Linked DNA regions of Homo sapiens: region 2 is linked to region 1. The links are contacts of gene promoters, found by promoter capture Hi-C in human tissues and cell types (Jung and others, 2019). All regions are on one chromosome and are shown on one strand. Each heading gives the region's core, a stretch centred on a gene start or on the middle of the fragment in contact. The rest is flanking DNA. Distances are from core to core; before and after follow the strand shown. Region 1 holds the start of CHRNA9 (cholinergic receptor nicotinic alpha 9 subunit). Region 2 overlaps RBM47 (RNA binding motif protein 47).

The links. The method cuts DNA at HindIII sites, captures the fragments that hold promoters and counts their contacts. A contact is called where the count stands out against the background at its distance.
Region 2: a fragment that was not itself captured here is called in contact with the fragment with the promoter of CHRNA9 in region 1 in 1 of the 25 tissues and cell types used here (IMR-90 fibroblasts).

The regions. Positions count from the first base shown.
Region 1 is chr4:40,332,575-40,339,807 of GRCh38, forward strand. CHRNA9 (cholinergic receptor nicotinic alpha 9 subunit) reads left to right here and starts at 2,759. Exons shown (of 5, transcript NM_017581.4): 1 at 2,759-2,957; 2 at 3,253-3,398; 3 at 4,636-4,790. The coding sequence starts at 2,894. The HindIII fragment of the contact is 10,503 bases long and covers 1-3,343 here.
Region 2 is chr4:40,481,963-40,489,195 of GRCh38, forward strand. The region is part of intron 2 of RBM47 (RNA binding motif protein 47); the gene reads right to left. Among named protein-coding and RNA genes, the nearest start is that of MIR4802, 17 kb to the right of the region's middle. RefSeq lists an enhancer at 1,030-1,566. The HindIII fragment of the contact is 5,027 bases long and covers 1,627-6,653 here.

The DNA of each region.
Region 1 (7,233 bases), core at 1,509-4,008:
AGAAAACAAAGACAGAAGTAAACCCTAAAATGTTTGGAGAGTGGTGCCATGGGCAGCCCTTTTGGCATGACTTTGCGTCCTAACTACCAATCTTATCCTAAACTCTGGTGCAAGGTGAAGGAATTCATGTAGCTGTCTTTTAAAGGAGCTTTGAGGGGGTTTTTTTGTTTGTTTGTTTTGTTTGTTTGTTTTTCAAGACACATATCTAGGATAAATCCAGCAAATTTAGAAAGTAGAAGTGAAATAGGTCCTTGGGGATGGCATCCCATTGAGGTATCTCCTGCCATTTCAGTGAGTTGTGAAGCATTGGTTAGCATGCGTCATGGCTCTGAGTGCCTAGGACAGCACTCCTCTGTGAAGAGCCCAGCCTCCTGGGGAGGTTGAGGGTCTCTGGCATGGTTCTTGGTGGAGAGTCAGCATCCTTTACCCACCTTCCTGTGGGGCAGATCGAAGTCCCACCTGCCCTTGGCTGAAAGGAAGTGCATTCCCAAGCCTCCTAAAGGCACACTTGACCTTGATTTCCTCTGAGCTTCCTCACCAGATGAACTGGTGTTGTGTAAGGAGCACTGTATTGAGTCAGGACGATGGGTTATGTCCTTGCGAAGGCTTCTGACCTCTCTAGTCCTCAGTTTCTTTATCTGTAACATGAGTGACCTTAGCTAGATGGTCCTCAAAGAGCTCTTTACAGGTTAGAAGTGCTCTGATCCTGTACTTAATGAAATGGAGAAAATATTCATGCCATATTCATTTGCAGGGAAAAAATCCTTTGCAAAACATGATGTTTGACTCTTGTAATTTTTGTTTTAAAAAACACATGTAGCAGAATGAAGGTATTTGTTCTTCCCATCCCCACTCTGCTGCTGGGCAGAGGATATTTTAGCCATAGAATTCACTAGGATTCTTTGTCAGACAGGACTCTATTCTAAGGAATGGGAGCACTGCCATCATCCTCCTGGAATGGAGTCAGGGATGCCCCCCAGGACACTGGACCCCAATGGGCAAAGGTTCTCAGCAGCTTCAACCTAAAAGAGGCCCCTGAGGGGAGAAGGGACCCTGAAGGGAGGGGAGTGGTATAGGAAGGGAAGGGACACCATTCAAGGTAGGCCCTGTGTCAACTACAATTCAACCCTGTGAGTGCTGTAAGGAATCCAAGACATATGAGGTAAAGATCCTCTACACACAAGGAAGTCACCACCCAGCTGGCATCAAAAGCCATATTGATGAAAGACAACGAGAAGGAAGAGATGCATTGTTAGTGTTGCAGGGAGCACAGTGGATTGGGGCAGGTGGCCTGGATCCTGTCTCTGGCCGATCACTGCTGGAGGGAAGCCACTCTGCATCCCTGGGCCTCAGTTTCCTCATATAGAAGTGAGGCATTAAACTCAATTTCAAAATTACCTTCTGCCTCTGAGATTCTGGAGCGGATGGTTTGCTGAAGGAGGACTGAGCGTGGGCACCCGGAATTGTGTCATTTGATGAATGAGTCAGACTAGGGGCGTCAGAAAAATAATGTCTTCACAATCAACACAATGGGATAGGCAATTAAGAAACACTTTGCCGATGGCTTGAGTGTCTGTTCCACTCAGAGGATACATTCCCGAAGAGGGATGGGGTGACTCATCAGGCGGCTGTAACCTGATGAAACAGAGCTATCCAATTTCCTCGCTCCAATTCCAGGCAACCAAATTATCTTAATATGGTTTTCCAAAGCAGTTTCCCCAGGCAAGAGGAGAGACAGACATGAGTTTCCAGACTAAGCAGCAATTGAAAATTGACATTTTTTTATAGGAGTAAAATTATATCACATATGAGAAATGACTGAAACTTTATATGAAGTAGCATTCAAATGCAAAGGGTGTCATCATTAGCAATATCACCATTGGTTATTATTCTCATGCTGATTTGGTCAGCCTTTGAACCAGTTTTTCTTTTTTTTTTTCGAGCTGGTAAATCCTGGGTGACTTGGTGAGTATAGAAATTCTGGGTATGCAAAGCTGATCAAAGATGATAATTACTGATATTTAGAAAGTGCTTTCACATACAGTTATCTCAGTAGCTCTAGAGAGAGAAAATATTATTTTCCCCAGTCTGTAGTTCTGGAAGGCTCAGAGAGGTTAGGTGACTTTTACAGAATAATAGAGCTCGTCAGGGTTTGGCTGGCAGTCAAACCCAGGTGGTCAAGTCCAAATCCAACTCACAGTGTTGCTGCTTCTTAAGCGAGTGATTATCCGCCCATCCAGCACACCCCCTCACATATATACTCACAAACATTTACTATGCAAGATCCATGCCCAGTGGGACAGCTGCAGGAGGGATCAGAAGCTGAGGCAGAGAAAAAACCAAAATGCCAATATATTCTGGAGATCATAGAACCGTGTCTCTTTCCCTCTTCAAATGCTGCTAAAAGCACGTAGAGTCTTTCTGGACAGCCGTCCCATGGCTCAGTCTTTTAGGCTTCCCTTAGTCCCTGGACTCAGGCTGACTCTGCTCATGGTGGGTGTAGAAATCTCCCATTCTGCTTAGATGGAGTCTCTGGGGTGTCAGGCATACCCCTGTTGCCTGCATCTACCTCCTTTTCTGTCTGGTTGTTTCTGCTGAGGGTGGCTAGGGACCCTCAACTGAGATGGCCCCCCACAACAGCACTGTTGGACCTAACACACCCTGGGTTCCCGGCTTCTCAGCCACTGGAGCTGCCAGTCTCAAATTACCGGAGGGGAGGGAGGGCAGGCCTGGATCTCAGGATCTCGGTCCTGCATGCAATGCAAGCCTGAGCTCTCCCGCCATAAGGCTGCAGCGGTGTGGGCTCCTTGTGCCCAGATCCTTTGTATTCATAGGGGGAAGTGGAAGACCACGCTGCCTGACTGAGACTTTATTATAGAGGCTCAGGAAAAAGATGAACTGGTCCCATTCCTGCATCTCCTTTTGCTGGATCTACTTTGCTGCTTCCAGACTGAGAGGTGAGAGGCTGGTGACACGTAACCTATCTTGTCTCATCTGGGGCTATTGCTTTGGTGGGAGGTGGGGCAGGACAGGGAAGACAAAACAGATGATTCAACCGCATGGAAGTGTTCTGTGCTTCCTACTGACTCTGATCTTGGTAGGGCATGCCAGAAAAACAACTCATCCATCCACCCAAAGCTTGTCCCTCGCCAGTGTTGGGCCATCCCCCATTTTAGACCTCAGTCTTGTGTTGTTTGTCTTGAAATACACACAACACTCTGAATGTTAATCCAGATCCCTCTTGTTGAGTAGCTGCAGAGACGGCAGATGGAAAATATGCTCAGAAGTTGTTTAATGACCTTTTTGAAGATTATTCTAATGCTCTTCGTCCAGTGGAAGATACAGATAAAGTCCTGAATGTGACCCTGCAGATTACGCTCTCTCAGATTAAGGATATGGTGAGTAACACATGGTGCTGACTCTGTGGAATGATTCTTAGAGGATAAACAACCATGCTTTCTGAAGAGAATGTCTTAACTGGGAATTTGAGAGGGAATGATAGCTCCTTAAGCAAGCTGGTGGGAGAAGAGAATGTCGGGAAAAGGAAGCTTTCTACAAAACTAATTAATTTCAAGAAACGTTACCTAATCCTGGTCATTAACTGTAACAGTCTTAGATAATCTAAAGAAAGATGGGGTTACATACTGTATGCAGCCATTTATATAAAATGTCCAAAAGAGGTAAATCCGTAGAGACAGAAAACGGCATAGAGGTTGCCGGGGTCTGTGGGGAGGACGGGGAAAACGGCCAGTGAGTTCTTAATGATTACGGCGTTTCTTTGCGGGGGGAAGAAATGATCTTGAATTAGGCAGTGGTGATGGTTGCACAACGTTGTGAATATATTGGAAGCCGGTGCATTGTTCCCTTCGAAAATGATTAAAATGGTGAGTTTTAATGTGAATTTGATCTTAATTTTTTTTTTGAGACGGAGTCTTGCTGTCACCCAGGCTGGAGTGCAGTGGCATGATCTCCGCTCACTGTAAGCTCTGCCTCCTGGGTTCACACCATTCTCCTGCCTCAGCCTCCTGAGTAGCTGAGACTACAGGCACCCGCCACCACACCCGGCTAATTTTTTTTTTGTATTTTTAGTAGAGACAGGGTTTTACCGTGTTAGTCAGGATGGTCTCAATCTCCTGACCTCATGATTCGCCCGCCTCGGCCTCCCAAAGTGCTGGGATTACAGGCATGAGCCACCGCGCCCGGCCAATCTCAATTTTTTAAAAAAGGTAGTGTTTTAAGATGGCATAGCTTATTAGTGCTTATCTATGTTTAATTACACAATGTTATGAAACTTGAAAGATTTTCCTTCTGCACATTGTTATTTCCTGACTTTTGCTTTCAAGTACATCATTCATTGATCAATTTTCAGGAAATATAGGCAGTTGATCTATGCAAAGATATCAATACTAAAATATTTGTCCACTTTACATTCTGAACACTAAATCTAGGAGGAAAAAAAATATGATCTTGGCAGTCAATCAAGGGGATAGAATAAATAAAGAATAAAGCTCTCACTTTACTTATTGAAATTTGATGAGTGTTTGTGAAATTCCTATTGTGAAGAACAAGTGTCCTATCAGTGGAAAACATTTCAAGTGTCTGCTAGGTAAAGCGACATCTGGATTCATTGTGTAGGATGAAAGAAACCAAATTCTGACTGCTTATTTGTGGATCCGCCAAATCTGGCACGATGCCTATCTCACGTGGGACCGAGATCAGTACGATGGCCTAGACTCCATCAGGATCCCCAGTGACCTCGTGTGGAGGCCAGACATCGTCTTATATAACAAGTAAGTGCAGCTCAGAACTGAGGCTTTTCAGGCATGAACGTGTTGATTTCATAGAATTTAAACATAATGAAAAAGGAATGTTTAAAACATGCATGAAATTAAATATTAATCCATGTTCCTAGGACTTACTGAAATAAGAGACATAGAATCTTAGATCAGGAAATAATATGTCATAAAAGCTTAGAGCTGGAAAGAAACCATCCATCTACATGCCCCTTTTTCAGGTGGGAAAGTGGAGGCTGCATTAGTTTGCTAGGGCTAACTTTGCCATAACAGAGTAGCACAGATTAGATGACTTAACAAAAATGTGTTATCTCACAGTTCTGGAGTTGAGATGCCTGAGATGAAGGGGTTGACAGCGTGGTTTCCTCTGAGGGCTGTGAGGGAGGATCTGTACCAGGCCTCTCTTCTAGCTAATGGTGGTTTGCTGGCAGTCTTTGGTGTTCTTGGCATTATAGAAGCGTCACTCTGAGCTCTGCCTTCATCTTCACATGGCATTCTCCTGTGTGTTCCCTGTGTCCAAATTTCCCCTTTCTATAAGGACACCAGCCATATTGGATTAGATGTCCACCCTACTCCAGCGTGACTTCATCTTAACCTAACTAATTACATCTTCATGATACTATTCTCAAATCAAGTCACATTCTGAGTGTTGGGGGCTAAGACTTCAATATGTGAATTTTTCAGGGACACAATTCAACTCTTAACAGTGACACTCACCATCCAAGATCATGTATCAATAATTAATTAAACCGGAATGGGCCATCTAGAAACTGACCTGTGGATTTGGGGCTTTGTGTGGAGTGGAGGATGAACCAGTTTACGGGATACAAAGTGACGTTTTCCCGGTCTCAGAGCAAGGGGCATTGTATAACGGGTAGGTAAAGTTTATGTTTCGCAAGCTGTAAGGTGCATATGAATCGCCCAGGGAGTTTGTTAAAATACAGATTGTGATTCCATGGGTGTGGGGCGGGCCTGTGATTCTGCATTTCTACAAGCTCCGGAAGACGTGGGCACTGTGGGTCCATGGGCTGCATTTTGAGAAAAATACCAGATCTCTGGTCACAGTTCAAGCTCAGTGGCCCCGCCTGTTGTTGAAAGAGCTTCTCTCTGTTTTTATTCTGGAACCCAAGTTTCTGTGGAGTGGGAAGAGTTCCTCTGTGGCTCAGACCTATGTGAATGAGGGGCAGCTCAGGGGGCTCCCCTGGGTGGAGGCTTCCAGTGGGCATGGATTTCCTTTAAGGAAGCAGCACGGGTGGGTTGCAGCCTGGATTTTAGTCTCACTCCTTACTCAGAGAGCTCATCTAAGGGTCATGAGCTCTGGAATCATAGCCCTGTTTTTCTGTCCATTCCCAACTCTGAGTGGCCAGAGGAATCATCTGTATTCCTTCCCAAGGAATATAACAGGAAGATAACATTCAAATACTGGGCTTTATTCCTCCAGTTTACCCTCCCTCCCCGTGCTCGCTCTCTCTGTCTCTGTCTCTGTCTCTCTCTCTCTCTGTCTCTCTCTCTCCCTCTCTCTCTCACACACACACACACACAGAGCAAGAAAACAAACCACATTGTCCATTACCACACTCTCGTCTGCAGAGTGCAGGAGAGTAATATCTGATAATTTCATTGACACAGGCAGGGCGTGAGGACTAACCCCTGTAATCCCAGCACTTTGGGAGGCCAAGGCAGGTGGATCGCCTGAGGTCAGGAGTTCGAGAACAGCCTTGCTAACATGGTGAAATCCGGTCTTTATTAAAAATACAAAAAATCAGCTGGGTGTGGTGGCGGGCGCCTGTAATCCCAGCTACTTGGGAGGCTGAGGCAGGAAACTCACTTAAACCCGGGAGGCAGGGGTTGCAGTGAGCCAAGATTGCACCACTGCACTCCAGCCTGGGCGACAAGAGCGAGACTCCATCTCAAAAAAAAAAAAAAAAAAAAAAGAAAGAAAAAAGAAAAAGAAAGATAATTTCATTGACACAGATGATCTCTTACAGAATTCTGTAAGTTCTTTTTTTTTTAATTTTAAGACAGGGTCTGGGGGCCAGGCATGGTGGCTCACGCCTGTAATCCCAGCACCTTGGGAGGCCGAGGGGGGCGGATCATGAGGTCAGGAGATCGAGACCATCCTGGCTAACATGGTGAAACCCCGTCTCTACTAAAAATACAAAAAAATTAGCTGGGTATGGTGGCAGGCACCAGGAGGCTGAGGCAGGAGAATGCCGTGAACCCGGGAGGCGGAGCTTGCAGTGAGCCGAGATCGCGCTCCAGTCCAGCCTGGGTGACAGAGCTAGACTCTATCTCAAAAAAAAAAAAAAAAAAAGGCGGGGTCTCACTCCTATCGCCCACGCTAGAGTGCAGTGGTGTGATCATGGCTCACTACAGCCTCAACTTCCCGGGCTCAGGTTATTCTCCCACCTCTGCCTCCTGAGTAGCTGGGACTACAGGT
Region 2 (7,233 bases), core at 2,890-5,389, 150 kb after region 1:
GGCATGTGCCACTGCGCCCGGCCATGATGTGGTTTCTATTAAATTACAGGTGTGAGCCACCGTACCTGGCCATGATGTGATTTCTATTAACTGGGAGCTAATAATCCTCTTGGAGAGATCATTAAATGTCTGATAATTACAACATATAGAATACACAGAAATGGAACAGCATGTGCTATCCAGACAATGGGAGCCACCACAATCAGGTGAAGAGTATTGCTAAGACAGATCAGAGTCCATGGGGAAAGCTTCCTGGAGGAGGTATAACTAGCCTGCATTCCCTTTTTTATCTTATTTTTTTAATTTTTTGAGACAGGGTCTCACTGTGTCACCCAAGCTGGAGCACAGTGGCGCGATCTCAGCTCACTACAACCTCCGCCTCCCCGGTTCAAGCCATTTTCCCACCTCAGCCTCCCAAGTAGCTGGGACTACATGTTCATGCTACCACACCCGGCTAATTTTTGTATTTTTAGTAGAGGTGGGGTTTCACCATGTTGGCCAGGCTCGTCTTGAACTCCTGACCTCAGGTAATCCACCTGCCTCTGCTTTCCAAAGTGCCGGGATTACAGGTGTAAGCACCTGGCCTAGCCTGCATTCTTATTTACAATTGCATCAGGTTACAAACAGAGGCAATCACAAAATCCTACACTTCAAAATATGTATTCTCTGTATTTGTTTACTTTGTGATTTAAAAAGTAAAACACCTCTTTCCTGAAGAATGTTCCTTATTTCAAGAATTGAGTATTCCTAAAATTGGAATAAACCTTAGACATATTTTATAATCAGCCAAGAAACGGAAATTTTTCAGGAGCTTGATAAGCTAGCAAGTAACTAAATGAGTTATGTGGAGTCTAAAAATCTTTGAAAATTTTTCTTCTTAAGACCTTGTGGTTCAGTTCTTATTTAAGCCTAGTTACCTGTTCAACATATTATTTTACCACTTTGAAAAGGGAGCTCTTATTTTTTGAAAAATAAAAGTAGATATTCTAAAGAAATTTGAAAGCAATATGGAAATAATTGAAATCATTCGAAAAAAATCAAACACTAAAACTTTAGCTGCGATGGATCTATAAATACTGGTTACGCTATTAATGATTACAGGTGAAATTAGAAACACGAGAACATCTTTAAAAGGTCAACTCCAAGGCTGATCAGTTTAGACGGGATGCTAAAATTAGCGAGGAGTATAAGCTCAGGAAAAAGAACAACATAAAATGCTAGTGAAGCAAATCGTTTCGACACAATGAGCCTGATTTTCCATGAGCAAATGGTAACTTGGCAAGGCATTCAATTTTGAATTGGTTGCAAGAGTCACTCAATCGTTCAACAATGGCTATTGATCCTACTATGCGTGGCTTTGTTCTAGACCCCGAAGATTGGATGGTGACAGGCAGAGGAGTCCCTGAAGAACAGAACAACAAGAAAGGGGCGGGGTAGCGGAAGCAGAGGGAGCGAGACAGGCAGGGGTCAGATGGGAGCGTTATAACACCCAGGAGAGGACTTCAAGTTCTCCTTGGCTGATTGGAGGATTCTGAGCAGAGAAGCGCTGTGATCTGCTTTTCTGTTTTTTAAGATCACTGGTGTGCAGCCGGGTGCATTGGCTCACGCCGGTAATCCCAGCTACTCGGGAAGCTGAGACAGGAGAATTGCTTGAACCCGGGAGTCAGAGGTTGCAGTGAGCTGAGATTGTGCCACTGGACTCCAGCCTGGGTGACAGAGCAAGACTCCATCTCAAAAGAACAAAAATACAATACAATACAGTACAATACAATACACTATCATTTTTTAATCAACCAATAAAATTAGCTAAAATACTTAATAGTGATTAAGTGTCACACTTCAGTAAAACAAGTATGAAAGCATCAAAACCCTTCTAAAAAAGAAATTGCATAGTGTATTTGAAGAGCCTGGAAATGTTTATTCTTTTTACTTAGCAATGATGTTATTATAAATCTATCCTTAAGAAATAAGAAAAAAAGCATGTTTACATCCAAAGATATTTATCTCAGAATTCTTTATAATACATTGAGAAACAATCCTTATAGGAATGGTTAAATAAATGGTGACACACCAGCCACTAAAAATTACATTTATGAAGAATTTAATGTCATGAGTAAAGGTTCACAATATGTGAGCTTAAGAAAAAAGAGAGTAGAGAAAACTTTATGTAGGGTACAATTTCTACTGATATTATAGTAATCAAATGTAGAAAAATATAACAAAATATTGACAGTGGTCGTCTCTGGAGAGTAAGAATATGAATATGGGTGATTAAAATACATATGTAACACATGTATGTTAAATATCTGTAACATATATGACTTTGATCAGCAAAATTTTAATGATTTGATAAAACGAACCTATTTGTTCTGTCCCTCATTCTCTCCATTTCGACCCATCATTACATTCTGCCAATTCCTTTCTTTTCCTTTCTTCCTGATTTAGTTCAGCACTAACCATGCACAACCTCCCACCCCCACCCATTGGGTTTCCTAGCTGACACCTTTCCCTGCTAACCATCCTGAAAGCAGTAGGATGAACCATTTTCCTTAGGTATGGTTGGGATCATGTTACTCCCATGAAGGGAATTTGAGGTGATCCTTGGTCATCCATAACATTGCAGGCTTTTGATCATGAGCTGCAAATCTCTGGTTAACTTATGATGACAAATCACTGCATAATTTCCCTTTGTTCCCTTCAACCTCAACAGATACACAGCTACACACAAAATCTCCAAGACTACCTTCCTTCCTTCTCTATCTACCAGATTCTTATTTTCCTTTGTAACTCTCTTCTAGAATCACCTTCCTCCAAAAGGATTTTTTTTATCCAGGTATCTATCTTTCTCAACACAACTTTACTCACTGCCACACCACTTCAGCATTTCTTCTTTTCTAGATATTTGGCAATTGTGTATTTGTCATTTGGGATCAAATTTGATTCCTGTTTCATCACAACATTGCCTAAACAGCAATGCTTCTGATTCTACATTTGAAAATTAAAGCTTATACACAAAGTTTAAGATTGTCTCTTTTTTTTTGTTTGTTTTCTTTTTCTTTTTTGTTTTTGTTAAGACTGTCTCTTGTAAAAAATGTTTGCACAGTTGTCATATGTTTGCATGACAAGCTGATCATGGTTCCTTACAAAGTATACCCAAGGTATTTGCTCTCAACCTTTTCTCACCACCCAGTGCACACACACAGAAATTCACTAACATGGGTGCTCAATAATTGTTATTGACAAGAATTCCAAACAGTTGGTCAAATGACTTTTTACTTACAACATGGAGCCATAAGTCATAAGATAATTTAATTTATGAAGAATCAATATGAAATAAAGACTTAAAGCTCAATCTTGTTACCTGTTTGGTGAACAACTCTGGAAAGTCAGGATAAAGGAAAGCCAAGTCGACAGCTGCTTTATCTAAGCAGTAAGAATATGCAGATGGGACCCTCTTCTGTTCTCCTACCATGTTTGTTCCAGGATTCCAATTTGAAATCTGTATGTGCCCCTTGACACCTCAATGCTTTGTCAAGCACCTCATTTCTCTGGCTTTAGTTTTATAGACAAAGAAACCAAATACATGGTGATGGAGCAGCTTATCACAGTATGTTTTTAGAAACACCAATGCTAAAATTACCAGTCCCCAAGTGTCAGGTGAAATTACTATAAGAATTAAGTGAGAATTACTTTGATCTAAAGTATTAATGAAAATGGTAGTGTCAGTCATGATTCTGGATAATTACTCAAATAGACAATTTTAAAAATTGGGACAACACATTAATATGAGAATATACTGTTATAAAGAGAAAATAGGCCGGGTAGGGTGGCTCACTCATGTAATCCTAGCATTTTGGGAGGCTGAGGTGGGCGGATTGCTTGAGTCCAGGAGTTTGAGACCAGCCTGGGCAACATGGCAAAAGGCCATCTGTGTAAAAAAAAAAAAAAAAATACAAACATTAGCTAGGCATGGTGGCATGCGCCTGTAGTCCCAACTACTTGGGGGTGTGAGGTGGGAGAACTGCTTGAGCCCGGAAGCTCCAACTGTAGTGAGCCATATTTGGACCACTGCATTCTAGCTTGGACAACAGAGCAAAACCCTGTTTCAAAAAAAAAAAAAAAAAAAAAAAAAAAAGAGCTTAGTGTGAAGAGTTTAGAAACTAAATACAGTAGCTAAGGAAGAAACTGATTATTTATCTGAATTTCAAATTGAACTAAACATTGGTCCCAATCACTCTTCCTTTTTCCAAGAACTGAGCATTAAATGGAATTTTAAAACATTTATTAAAACAAAATCAAAGACAAACTACAATTAGGAGTGTGTCATTAAAGAGCCAATTTCCTTAATATGCCAGAGTGCTTCCGTATCAACAAAAAAATACAACACAATACATACGAGCAAAGATATCAGCAGGCAGTTTGCAGAAAAACAAGATTCTATGATGAATAAACATGAAAATAGTTCAACTCTATTCAAATCAAACTTTGTCTGATTAAAATAGATAGAAATCGAAACAGTGAGTCCTACTATATCAGCAAAAATTTTTAAATTTGGGCTGGGTGTGGTGGCTCATGCCTGTAATCCCAGTACTTTAGGAGGCCAAAGTGGGTGATGACTTGAGGTCAGGAGTTCGAGACCAGACTGGTCAATATGGTGAAACCCCATCACAGATTTAAATGGAAGTTGTAAAATCTTACCCCCAGTAGAGGATCTTTAGAGGAAATGGGGTGAGGGTTGGGTAGAGGGCACATGGATTGAGCAACCTTGACTGTGATTCCCATAAATTTAGAAGTTCAGGCAGGAGGACTTCCCCCATGTAACTATGATTCAACAGAGCACACATCCTGTTTAATAACAAAGGCATTTATGCAACATTCATTCTATGTCTCTGGGTAATTTATATGTTGCTTGATCTTGGTAATGTGCAAACATTTTTAGCCAGTTCTTAACTGTCAGGTGATCTCTGATTGTTGCTGTTTTCTATAGTTGTTGTCTAGACACTCACAAGGATTCAGGTTTATTTTGGATCCTAAAGTCAAGGCCAGTATTTCTTTAAGACTTACTTAAACTGGAAGAGTCCTAAGATTTCAGTAGCCACAAAAAATTATTCTCTGTGCTCCCCCAAGAGGGACAGACACAATGAGCAACCTTAGGATGGTCAAGGGTCATCTGTTAGCTCTTTTAGACTCAGTGGAGCCTTCATGGGGATTGGCAGATGGAACCGAAAGCAACAAAAAAGACCCCAAAGGAATTGGCATCTTGGGAACTCAGATTTCCTCAAGGACTCCTCCATCTGATGATGTTGGTAATTTCAGCTCTACATCATCATTTCTTTTCTTTTCTTTTTTTAAAGATGGAGTCTCACTCGGTCGCCCAGGCTGGAGTGCAGTGGCGCGATCTCGGCTCACTGCAAACTCCACCTCCCAGGTTCAAGTGATTTTCCTGCCTCCTGAGTAGCTGGGTCTACAGGTGTGCACAACCATGCCCAGCTAATTTTTGTATTTTTTAGTAGAGACAGGGTTTCACCTGGTTAGTCAGGCTGGTCTTGAACTCCTGACCTCAAGTGATCCACCCACCTTGGCCTCCCAAATTGTTGGGATAACAGGCGTCAGCCCCCATGCTTGGCCTCATCATTTCTTTTTTTATCAAAAACCAGACAGTCAACTAGGCACCCCTCTGTGCTCACCTTTCACGTCCTGGCATAACACTTCGTAAGCATAGCTACACAAAGAATAAGAATGGCAAGCCCCAAGTATGAAGAGATAAATCAAATTTAATTGTTATTAATATATTATTGATTATTCACACTAAATTTAGTCTTCCAAAAAAATAAATCTACTTGGATAAAATTCATGTTGATGGATAGACCAAAGAAAGCTGGTTATCAATTTATATGCTAATGAATTTTTCTTACTTTTCCCCTATGTATAGCCTAGTATTTTGTAATTTCTCTGCACCTACAGGGCCAGAGGAGGGAAAAAAACGGAACGCACATCCTTTCTGTTCTTTAGTGAAGCTTTTGATGAAAGGGATTAATAAGAGTTAGGGGTGAGGGAAAGAAAGAAAGAGAGAGAGAGGCTGGGCACGGTGGCTCACACCTGTAATCCCAGCACTCTGGGAGGCCAAGGCAGGTGGATCACCTGAGATCAGGAGTTCAAGACCAGCCTGGCCAACATGGTGAAACCCAGCCTCTACTACAAAATTAGCCAGTGTAGTGGTGCGCACCTGTAATCGCCACTACTCAGGAGGCTGAGGCACAAGAATCACTTGAACCCGGGAGGCAGAGGCTGCAGTGAGCAGAGGTTGCAGTGAGCCGAGATTGTACAACTGCACTCCAGCCTAGGTGACAGAGCGAGACTCTGTCTCAAAAGAAAAAAAAAAGGGTGGGGGGGAAGGGGGAGAACTTGAGACGCTATAAAATGAAAATTAGAACTTTTCAGTGCGCACCATTTTCATAATTTATGGTACTTCCACCCCAAGCATGCCTCAAATTTGTTTAGGAAAATATTTTCTTCTCATACCTTCATTTGTTCTCATATCATCATTGTAATATGGGTGGATGATCAAATAAGCAAGGCCGGCAATTGGTCTGAGAAAAGAGCTCATTTGGAAATAACATCCTGAGCTTTGCAACCGCAAGTGAGAAGTGTATCTCAGCACCTGGTAGCAAATGCAGGTGAGGTCCACCCTGGTAGTACATACAGGAGAGTTCATAGATGGTTGGCAAAGAGGTACAAACTAATGGAAACACAACAACAAGCTCTGTAGCTACTTTACATGGAGTTGACTCAGCAAAGGCCCATCTGACCTAACAACAACAACCAGATTAGAATAGTTAATCTTTATTGAACAGTTGTTACCACCAGTTCTGGGTGCTTCACATATGCTATTTCATTTAATCCTCACGACAATCCTATGAGGTACTAATTATCTTTCTGCTATTTTGCAGATGTGGAGACTGAGGCTTACAAAGATTAAATAAGTGTTCAAAGTCTCACAACTATTAGGTGGCAGATGTAGAACTCATATCCAGGTTCCCAAACCCCAGAGCCCAAGTTTTTGCCCCAGAATCACAATGCTATATGGACTGCACCATAATGAAACAGCTGTGTCAACTGTACTCTGTATGCCCCCCTCATGTATTCAGTTGCCCTGTAACTCTGTCCCCAAAGGAGAAAGTTTGCATGCCCTGACTGTTTCAGCATTGGTCACTCATACTCACAAACTGTCCT